Linked DNA regions of Homo sapiens: region 2 is linked to region 1. The links are contacts of gene promoters, found by promoter capture Hi-C in blood cells and fetal thymus (Javierre and others, 2016). All regions are on one chromosome and are shown on one strand. The core of a region is centred on a gene start or on the middle of the fragment in contact, and the rest is flanking DNA. Distances in the headings are between cores, read along the strand shown.

What was found. The method cuts DNA at HindIII sites, captures the fragments that hold promoters and counts their contacts. A CHiCAGO score of 5 or more calls a contact.
Region 2: a contact is called between a fragment that was not itself captured here and the fragment with the promoter of EPHB6 in region 1, in 1 of 17 cell types (naive B cells). The highest score is 5.9, in naive B cells.

What each region holds. Positions count from the first base shown.
Region 1 is chr7:142,851,832-142,859,524 of GRCh38, reverse strand. EPHB6 (EPH receptor B6) reads right to left here and starts at 4,449. Exons shown (of 20, transcript NM_004445.6): 1 at 4,140-4,449. The HindIII fragment of the contact is 5,828 bases long and covers 1,681-7,508 here.
Region 2 is chr7:143,385,059-143,388,135 of GRCh38, reverse strand. The region is part of intron 5 of ZYX (zyxin); the gene reads right to left. Among named protein-coding and RNA genes, the nearest start is that of MIR6892, 3.9 kb to the right of the region's middle. The HindIII fragment of the contact is 3,543 bases long and covers 56-3,077 here.

The DNA.
Region 1 (7,693 bases), core at 3,200-5,699:
GTACCCCTGTTGCAGGAATCCAAATAAAGAAAAAGGAAGCTTTATTAAGATATGGAATAAATTGCTGTCAGCAAATTCATACCACTGCAGATTCTTTTGAAGCCAATTTCAAAGGCAGAAACATAAGTGACAAGAACACGGCTGCTCCACATGCCTGGAATGCTAAGTAAGCAGGACTCAGAACTTGATTTTTCAAAGGTGTCTTCAATGGTTGTGGGCATGGAGCATCTTCTGCATTTGGTCCAGGAGAGCATCCCAGGGACAGGCCAGTACATTTCTCCTGCCACAGAGATGGGAAGCAGCCTCTGCAAAGCCAGGCCCCTTGCTCCTCTCTCACAGCCTGCTTGAGAGTCCTCTCTCCTCTGACTTACAAAAGGAACTGGTCAGTATTTAGAAATTCTCTAACACAAGAATGTGCAAAAGAACTTATCTCCTTTAGAAAAATATTCACATTTCAGATGTGTATAAGGTTTTAAAAATATAAAACCAGAAGCAGCAGAAATGTGAACATAAAACAATGGTGGAGAAAACGAGACGGATTAGACAAAGTTTTAGGTAACAAAAATTGCAGTCTATGACTTTATAATATGTTCTCAGCTTCTTTTATAGATATATCACTTAATATCTTTTTGATACAGTAGAGACAATAGATCCACAAGCCTGCTACATCTCTTTGGTTTACAAAAATAAGACTGTTTCTTAGGTATCAAGGTTGTGTTTTGTTTTCAGAAACTGGCAAAAAGTAAAGATTTGTAGAATCATAGGTTACAAAGCATAGCTTACGAGTTATGTTGCTATAAAAATGAAATATTTCACTTTGGGAGGCCAAGGTGGGCGGATCACAAGATCAGGAGATCGAGACCGTCCTGGCTAACACGGTGAAACCCCGTTTCTACTAAAAATACAAAAAAAAAAAAAAAAATTAGCTGGGCGTGGTGGCGTGTGCCTGTAGTCCCAGCTGCTGGGGAGGCTGAGGCAGGAGAATGGCGTGAACCCGGGAGGCAGAGCTTGCAGTGAGCCGAGATCGTGCCACTGCACTCCAGCCTCGGCGACAGAGCAAGATGCTGTCTCAAAAAAAAAAAAAAAAAAAAAAAAAAAAAAGAATGACTTAAAAGTAAATTAAATTGGTAAATTGGTAAGAATTTAAAAAATTAATCGTGCTCCAATTAAATGCTAAATATGATATTTTCATGAGCAAATCAAGCTTACTTAATATAGTTTATGCACCTCAATCCACAAAGTGAATTTTTAAAGATTAAATAATGTAAGCCAAATAAGCTTGGAGGAAGGTAGGCAGAAGACATATTAGGCCATTAAAATGGGTTACTGTGGGAGGTAGAAATGAAGGATTGTAGGTGGGGGCATTAATTTTGTCTTACACATAATTCAATTATTTTTCTTGTTACAGTAAGCATACCTTATTTTTATAATTAACGTAAAATCTCATAATTAAAATCTAAACAAAAAAGAAAAATATTTGTAAAACCTAGACAAATAAGCATACGTTTACATTTTATTCACTCCCCATGCCATTTTCCTTCTATGTTTCAAAATATCAAGAAATGTTCATCTATAAGAAGAAGGTAGAGGTGGAAATACAGTAGGAGCTGAGAATGAATGAGTGAAGTAATGCCAACAAGAAAACCAAAATAATTGTTATCTCTGGCTAGTCTTTAAGCTTGTCTCCCAAGAAGTTCCAACTGTCCCGCTGCTGACATCATGCATGCTTCTCTTCGACGATGTCAAGCAAAGGGATGAGGCTATGAAGGGACAGAGGGGAACCCAGGGGACTGTCCACTGGGAACACATAGTAAAGGGCATGGCCCCAAACCGAGCCCAGACAGGAACAATTTAGTGAGACAAAGCAGGCTGCAGAGTCCAGCAGGGACAGAACAGTCCCAAGGGCAAAGCGGTTCGAGGTTTTATGTCTGGTGTGGTTGCTGGGCTGGTCCTTACACCTGTGAGCCACACAGGTCAGTGTGGGAGGGGTCAGTACCACAGGCCCTGTCCCCTATCCTGTTCCACAGCTGTTAAACGCCCAGGAAATTCCAGTATAATCCTTGCTCAGTTTAATGCCAAAGCCTCTATCCTTTAATCTCCACCTTGGAGATCTCTTCGTGCTCTGGCCTCCTGCCTTGAGAAGGATCCCATCATCAGGCTTCATGGAGGCATCCAGGACAGACAGTGAGGAGGTGGCTGTCCTCCGGCTCTTCTAGTCCCTGCTTCCTTGGCTGGAGAAGCCAATTTGTAGATTACCTAGCAGAGGACAGTCCTGTGTCCCTGGAGGCCTCCAGCCCCTGAGAATGTCCCCCAGAGCACTGTGACTCAGACAAATGTGCCTCCCACTCCCAGGCTGTGGAGCTGGGGGAGGCTTTTAAGATGCAGGCAGTGTCTAGGTCTAGCCAGACAGCCACTTAGAATGAGCCACTCTGTGCACTGACCGGGGACATGCGTGGCTCTGGAAAAGAGCATAAGGGAGGGTGTTAAGGCAGGAGGCAAATGTGCCTGAGAGATGAGTAAGTGGAAGGTTGTGGAAGAAAGCCCCTGAGTGCCAGGAGTAGCACCTGCGTCAGCAGTGCCTGAGGATGTGTGTCTACCTGGTGGAGTGTGTAAGGGAATGTGTATGAGATGAGGTGGGCGGGAGCAGATGCTGTCTGTGTAGATGGGGGCTGTTGCTTTCCTGTGGCAGAAGATGCACATCAGTGCTGGTTCCGGAGTGGTTCCATGGGCCCTTCTTCCTCACCTTCGGCCCCTGCTCTACCCCCAGTCTGGCTGTGAGTTGCTCTTGGCCCCAGGAGGTACTTCTGCAGAAACACCTGGGCTGGGAGAGGGAGCCAAGTGGGGGGCGGGGAGGAGTGGGTAAAGAAAGGGAAACCTGAGGCTTCCCAAACCCTCCAGAACCTGCCATCCTCCTTCTACCTAGAGTGGGAACTCAGGGTCTAGGGCCCAGGCTCAGGACAGAGTGATAGCAGAACAGCCGTCCCAGAAGGAGGATCCTGCCTTTCCCATGCTCAGCCCACCCCAGCCTGTTGCTCCCCAGCATTCTGGTAACTCAGTGTCATTGCCAACCATCTTTTTGCACCCTGAATGGAGTAATAGACTCCAAACAAGTCCTCCTTCTGAGGCCACCAGGTAAGTACATAGACACCCCCACGCTAATCTTCCTTTGAGAAAAAAGGCCCACTGCTCTGAAAAGCCAAGTGGCCCCACTGAGCAGCACTCAGAAGCCTCAATGCTCCAATGCCCCTTACTTGGGCAGCTTCTGTGGTCTACTAACAGCCCCACACAGCTCCCTCCCACTGGTCTCTCAGCTCAGGACCAGCATCTCCCCTCCTAGAGCCTCAGTCAAGTTCCCCTGGCGGGCGGAGGGCCTGGGTTAACTGGGAACAGACCCAGCAGCTCCGCTCCATGGGCGCTGCCAGGGACATTACAACATTGCTATGCTGGGTCCATGCCAGCTCCCCCAGGGATGGGAGGAGAGAGGGTGCCAGACGGCCAAGATCGGTGGGTGGGGGTGTGGGGCAAGCAGGGCCAAGCACCCAGATGGAGGGAGCAGAGCGAGGGTGGAGCTGGGGCAGGAGCACGCAATAGAATTTGGTTGCACGTTGGGGGTGATGGCTGGGCAGCAGGAACCAAGCGTTCCTTCCACCTCCAAGGCTTAACTGTGGTCATGGAGCTGGGGGGGACAGTGCCTTGTGGGGAGCAGGGGACAGGTGTGTGGTCAGCCTCCTGACTCCTCCCAGCTCCAAGGGGATTGGAGTGATGCCACTGGAGTCAGAGGGGTGGCAATCCTGTTCCAAGCGTGGAGCTCCGTCTCTGCGAGGACCCTCCCAGATTAGGACTCCCAAGCCAGAGCCAGAGGAGAATGTCTGGGAACGCAACTGGGGGATCCTAACAGCAAGGGTAATGCGGTGTCAATGATGCCAGGTCAGAGTGGAGTGAGAGGGGAGTAGCCAGGTTGACCGTTTCCTCACCCTTCATGAACCCCACTCTGGCCTTGAGGAAGGATCCTCAGTACTCCCTCAGGAAGCCACCTAGGGGCTGAGGAGCCCCACTACTCTTGCAAACCTTAATTCCTCTGTCCCCAAGCATACTGTCCCCGACCCCCACAACGCCGCCTGCTAACCCCGCGGGCTCACCTTCCCGTTGGCCGCAGTCTCTGCAGGTCTGCGCCCCCCGAGGCCTCGCAGTGGACCCGGGGCTCCTGGAGCTCGCACGGTGCCACCCGCGTCTTCTCCAGTCCGGGGACCCCGTTGCACCCGGCCCGGGTCCGTTCGGCGCCGAGAGTCCCTGGGATTCCGGGGTGGACCTGACGCTGGCGGCAGGGGCTGCTCCAGAGGTGGGGCGCCGGGAGATCCTGGGGGCCCGCGTCGAGATCGCCGTCGCCAAGCTGGGTCCCGGGTCCCGCCGCCCGCTGCTGTAGAGCCGCGGCTGGAGCGAACGCAGCCCGGCCCGCCCCCTCCGCGTCCCCTCCCAAGCCGGCCCGGCCCGCCCCTTCAGCCCCTTTGGCCGCCTTCCCACTCCCTTCTTCCGGGGAGCCGAGCCCGCCCTCCCGGCCTAGGCGGTGAGTGCGCGGCGCCCGCTCCTCCGCCCCGGCGCGCGGGGGAGACGCGGGGCGCGCCCGGGGCCCCGCCTGTGCGCCGGGAAGGGGGCGGCCTCCTCCCGCGGGTCTTGGCCGGGAGGATCGCACGCGTGGGGCGCCTGCAGGAAGTGGGAAGGGAAGAGGCTGTCTGTAAAGCCCCTGCCTGGGCTCGGGCTCGGGCTCGGCTTGGGTCGGACACCCGCGGAGCGAAGCGCAACTGGCGGACCGTGGCAGTTCAGGGCAGGGCAGAGCCCTGCACACACCCCCTCGCGCCTCCCTCCTCTTCGGCTTTAACTCTAGGAACTAAAACAGTGGGGCTCCTACTCAGCTTGGAACTAAGGTGGGCGTGAGCTGAGCAAGAGAGAAGGAAGGAAAAGCAGGGGGTGGAGGGAAAGACAAACTGAGAAATCTGGGAGAGTACGGGCGGTGGTAGGGGGAGCCGAGGCAGCGGGAGAGGGGGGCGTCTCGGTATGAAAGCGTCGCCGTGCTAGCCGGGAACTCTTTTCTCTTTTCGTGTCTGGATCTTGGTCAACGTTGGGGCTTCTGAGTCGAACCTCCCTCCATCTACCCTCCCCAAGGGGCAGGGCAGTCGGGTTGAAAAGGGGAAGCGCTGCTGTACGCCTGGCTCTGACATGGCTTGGGCAAGTCGCTGCACCTCTGGGTGCCTCCTCCCTCGCCCGCGCTCCGGAGAGAACCTCCCTGCAGTGAGGAGGGGCGGTGCAAGGTGCTCTCAGCTGGCGCCTGGAGGCAGGGTTGAGGAACCGAGGGGGCGCCGCGAGGAAAAGTGTTTCCGCCCACCTCTAACCCCTTCTCTAGCCGAGGACGGGGATTTGGGGTCTATTGTTTGGGTCCTACAGAGCTGGGCTGGGGCCTTGCCACGAAGTGTTGCTACCACCTGCTGGTTTTTCTAGGGAGCACAAGCACCCGGTGCGATTCCCTTTGCCCCCTTTTCTCCCTGTATCGCCCTGTCCCATCTTGCTCTCCTGTTTATTAAAGCAAATGGGCTGATCAAAACTGGTACTTAAAGAGCATTCAGAAGCCGAAGAAAATTGTGAAAGAGATCTATGAGCCAACAAACACAATAAACAAAACAATGAAACTCAGTAAGAGTCACCTGGGAGAGACAAACAGGCTTTAATGAATTGACTGAATGAGTGATAGAAAGATAAAGGCTACCGAGCAAGTTCCCACTTGGCCAGGGGTTTGTTCACTCTTAATATCAGGAGTCAATAAATAAGTCTGATAGTATTTAATGACTGCATTTGGACGTCATTAATAATTCCACTTGTACTGACGGTTCTACTTTATCTTGTTTCTTCCCTTTGCCCTGAAACTCAGTGGTGGAGGGCTTCCTTCATTTTCTGGTTATCTCCAAGGCTTTCAAAGACTTCTGCAAAGAAACAGAATTTGCATTGTGTGTGGAATTACGTAACTCATACATTAACATGCCTGATTGCTAGACATCTATGGTTATATTGAAAACTTAAAAAAAAGACACATAACTAGATTATGTTAAAATAAAAATATGGACAAAACCAAACCGTAGTTGTTACTTTATAAAACCCAGAAATTCCTGTAGTAATTTGCAACGTATCCTGTATTGACATAACAGTAAAAATATCTGCCTTCTTTTCTATTTCATGATATACCTCATATTAGGTGACTATAATATGAAATGAAGTTTTTGCTGCTCAAGGCTTGTGTAATTAGTTATATTTGTCTTGTTAATAAAATTTGAGAGGCATCTAGTTTTCAAAGGAAGTGTCATACTCAGGATGCAAAGAGGTTTAAATTTGTGATTAGTCGGCTTTGCATCCTAATTGCCTATGTCTTATCAAACCAAGTTTTAATGGTAGGTGGAGAGCATAGAATGCATTGTTAAAGTATGCTGCAACCTGCAGCTATTAAAAAGCAAAGTAATGAATTCCTTTTTAAAGTTTAATGTAAATTTTTTGCTATAATTTGTTTGGTGCCTGGGACACTCCAGGTGCTTAGAAGTGTTATAGAATGAATCAATAAAAAATAATATTTAAACTTTTTCTATGTGGATGGGCACAGTGGCTTATGCCTGTAATCCCAGCACTTTGGGAGGCTGAGGTGAGAGGATCACTTGAGGTCAGGAGTTTGAGATCAGCCTGGCCAACATGGTGAAACCTCATCTCTACCAAACAATACAAAAATTAGCCAGGCATGGTGATGCATGCCTATAGTCCCAGACACTCAGGAGGCCAAGGTGGGAGAATCGCTTGAACCCGGGAGGCGGAGGTTGCAGTGAGCCAAGATTGTCCTACTGCACTCCAGCCTGGGCGACAGAGTGAGACCCTGTTTCTTTCTATATATATATGTGTGTATATATATATATTTTTTTTTTTTGACTTGTTCAAAAAAAAAACCCTGGAGTATTGCTAATGGGCAGGACCTAATAAAGTTTATGGCTCACAGAATTAATCATTTCTGGCACACAACAATCTATTATGTAAATTTGGAACCAAAAGGAACTGCTGAGTAGAAAACTCCAGGTGAGATAGGAAGGCTCCTAGATTGGTTCTGCCTCATTTTTTCTGAGTTTTTGCCTCCTTCTTGGGCTTTGCTCACTCCCCTAGGATGTGCAATTTTCTTCTTCCTTATTTCCCCTTAGAACAGCTAATGTAAGCTGATGTTGTCATAAACAAAGAGCTTTACAAATAATTTCACTGATAAGAATTCTAGTAAAAAGCCATAAAGGAGTCTTCTGAGTCCCCTATCTCTTATTCCAAAACATTAGTTATAGCTCCCAATGCATGACCTCACAGGGCTCAGGCCCTTCACTGAACTGTCTTGAGGCTTTGTGGCCTCTAGGTGCAGTTGCACTTCCTAAAAGCTGGAGTCTAGTCTCCAAACACTTTACCAATGGAAGTGTTAAATGCCCATTTGTACAACTAAAGCTTTTATTGTTTTCTGTTCAGAAACTTCTAGAATGTTCAAAAATTCTCCTATGTTACTGGTTTGTTTGAAAGTCAAACCTAGATTGCAACTGATTTGTAGACCAAGGGTAATGGATACCCTTCATGGTGGTATTAAAGTTTACCCATCATAGTCCTACACTTTGATATTACTTTAACCATGCAATAA
Region 2 (3,077 bases), core at 578-3,077, 530 kb before region 1:
ATGAGGCTTAGCTCCCAGCTCGTGTCCCAGATGCTCAGGCTTGACCCTTAAAGCTTCTCCCTCGTCCCCCTACCCCCGCCATCCCCAGCACCACACAAATAACAGGGGAAGGGACCTAAGCCTGGATCTCGTACAGCAAGACATTTCCACCCACTCTGCCCAAACCCCCTGAGCAGTCACAGACAGGCCAGAATGACTGGGCGGACGGAGGCCACGCACACAGCAGCTCGGGTCACTGAAGCACCGGACACTCCAGGGCCACGCATCAACTCCACAGAGCATGCTCGGACATCGCCCCCATGGGACAGGGGCACGCAATGGCGTGCACACACGCGCACACACACCTACCCGGCCTGCCTGCTGCTGAGCAGCCCCTGTCAGCGTGAGGATACAACACAGGCAGGAATTGCAGGTTAAACCCACTGAGCTGTCTGCAAGAACCCAGCCCCACCCCCACACAGAGACCCTGTCCCTCGAGTGAGGGGCCTCTGAACTACCTCACTCAGGTCCCTCCCCAGCAGCCTCAGAGAAGGTCCAAAGGCCACCCCCTAGGCCAGCCCAACCTTCCCATTTAGGGGATCCCGGGGACTGGAGTGGGGGGTGGATGTTAAGGACAGCGCTGCCAGTAACCCTGAGAGGTAACCCTGAGAACTCCGGGAAGGGCTGTCTGACCTGCATCAGCACTGCCGGGAGACACGCCCACAGGAGCAAGTGCACTGGGTGGGTCTTTTCTATGTCTGGAAAAGCCTACCCAGGACTGTGGCCCCATCACTGAGTGTGCTACCTGCAGATGCCTTCATTCCCATAACACCTGGAACCTCCAAAGCCCCCCTGCTACCTCCTCCCATAGCCCCTCTCCCCTCAGCCCTGGCTTCACTGCCCCTCACCCCGACCCCCATCTGTACCCAGAGTTGCGTCCTTTCTGCCCAGTGAAGCATGCGTCCATATAAGTCCAACTCTCCAGATCTTAGCCATTTTCCCTTAAGATCTTAGCCATCTTCCCTTAAGATCCTACCATCTCTTAACTGACTCGTTCCCTGGAACACTCACTTCAACTTTGTCTCCTCCAATCTTCCCTTCCTGGCCTCTTGGGGACACAGTGAAGGGGCTCAGTCAGTCCTTGCTCTCCAGTGCCATTCTAAATGCCTGGCTCCTCCTTCAGAAGCACAGAATCCTCATCTGCATCACCTCCCATGGGTATCCCCATTCATCAGGACACTCTATCCAGAACTGCCCCCTCTGCCAGCCTGCACCAATGCCACCGCTTCAAACCAAACTTCCGTCCATCTCAGTCATCATCCATCATGGGACATCCTTGACCTCAGATTTACCTCCAAGTCTCTTGCCAGCCATTATCTGCCTCTCCTCTTCCCCATCCACACCTACTACATGAACCCAGAAAAGCCTTAGTTGCCCCCACCCGCAACCCACCCCTGGACTTTGTCCACCATGCCCCAGCCTGGTCCCATGACCATCTAACTCCTACAGGGTTCACTGTCCCTCCGGGCACCTGCAGCCACCCGCAGCTATCCGGCCCAGTCTCCAACCCCAAGTCACACCACCACCCTCTTCCTGTTTCTGCTTCCAAGCTGCAGAAAGCAGTGGAGAGATCACTGAACACTGCAGCGTGAGCTCACAACACTGCAGCACCCGCGCGACCTCCAGCCCAGCCTTCCCCACAGCAGCCGTTCCAGACCTCTCCATCTCCTGAGCCCCCACCTGCTTCGTCCCTTTGCTCGCACCGTGACCTCACCTCCCACATGGTTGAGGACATGGAAGCCAGCCAGCTTAAGCTCCCTCATCGTCCTTCCTATCCACGCTGCAACCACTCTGTCCTTGCTGTCTGGTATGCCTCTGGGGGAGGAGACATCACCAAGATCTCCTCCAGGGACCGAAGCAGCCTGCCCCTGCTCTCCCACAACACTCACCCTCCATCACCTGCTTCCCCGGGTTACACACGTACCTGAGCCCTTCTCCCCTAACTTGCAAAAACCACATATGCTACACCACAGACTCAAACACACACACCCTCACACATACCCACATACCACTCACATGCACACACACATACCAGACCACACACATACACCACTCACATACACTCACACATATACCACACCACACACACACACTCACACATATACCATACCACACACACACACACCACTCACATTCAGATAATACCACACCAGGCCAGGCGCGGTGGCTCACACCTGTAATCCCAACACTTTGGGAGGCTGAGGCAGGCAGATCACTTGAGGTCAGGAGTTCGAGACCAGCCTAGCCAACATGGTGAAACCCCATCTCTACTAAAAAATACAAAAATTAGCCAGGTGTGGTGGAACGTGCCTGTAATCCCAGCTACTTGGGAGGCTGAGACAGGAGAATCGTTTGAGCCAGGGGGGCGGAGGTTGTAGTAAGCATGGGCGACAGCCTGCACTCCGTCTCCAAAAAAAAAAAAAAAAAAAAAAAAAAGATATACCACACCACACGCTCACACACACCACTCACATATATACACATACGCCACTTGTGTGTATTTGTAAGAAAGTATGTATGTGCACCTTCACTTGTGCAATCACACACCATACACATCACAGCCACACTCACACATGCACACACCTTCACTCACACATGCACACATGTACTCATATACACATACTTTCACACAATCACACTACACACATCACACGCCACTCATACATTCATGCTCACACATGCACATACACTCACATACACCATACCCACACCCACACACTAACACACACACACACGCCACTCATATATTCACATATGTGTATATATACACACACACACACCACTGACACACAGTCCTTCCCTTAGTCCTTTAAGACCAGGCTACACCAGCAGCCCCACTTCTCACCACCCACTCTCTCCTCAACTCCTCACATTGTGTTCCCACCACAGGGCACAAACAGGCCATCCCAAGACCGCTGATGATTTCCCAACAGTCTAATCTCTAGCCTTGAGTCCTCACTCCCTCAAATACCCCACTGAGGAGCTCAGCTCTCTTCTCCAAGTGCACCCTGACTCTCCTCCTGACTCTTCTTCCCGCA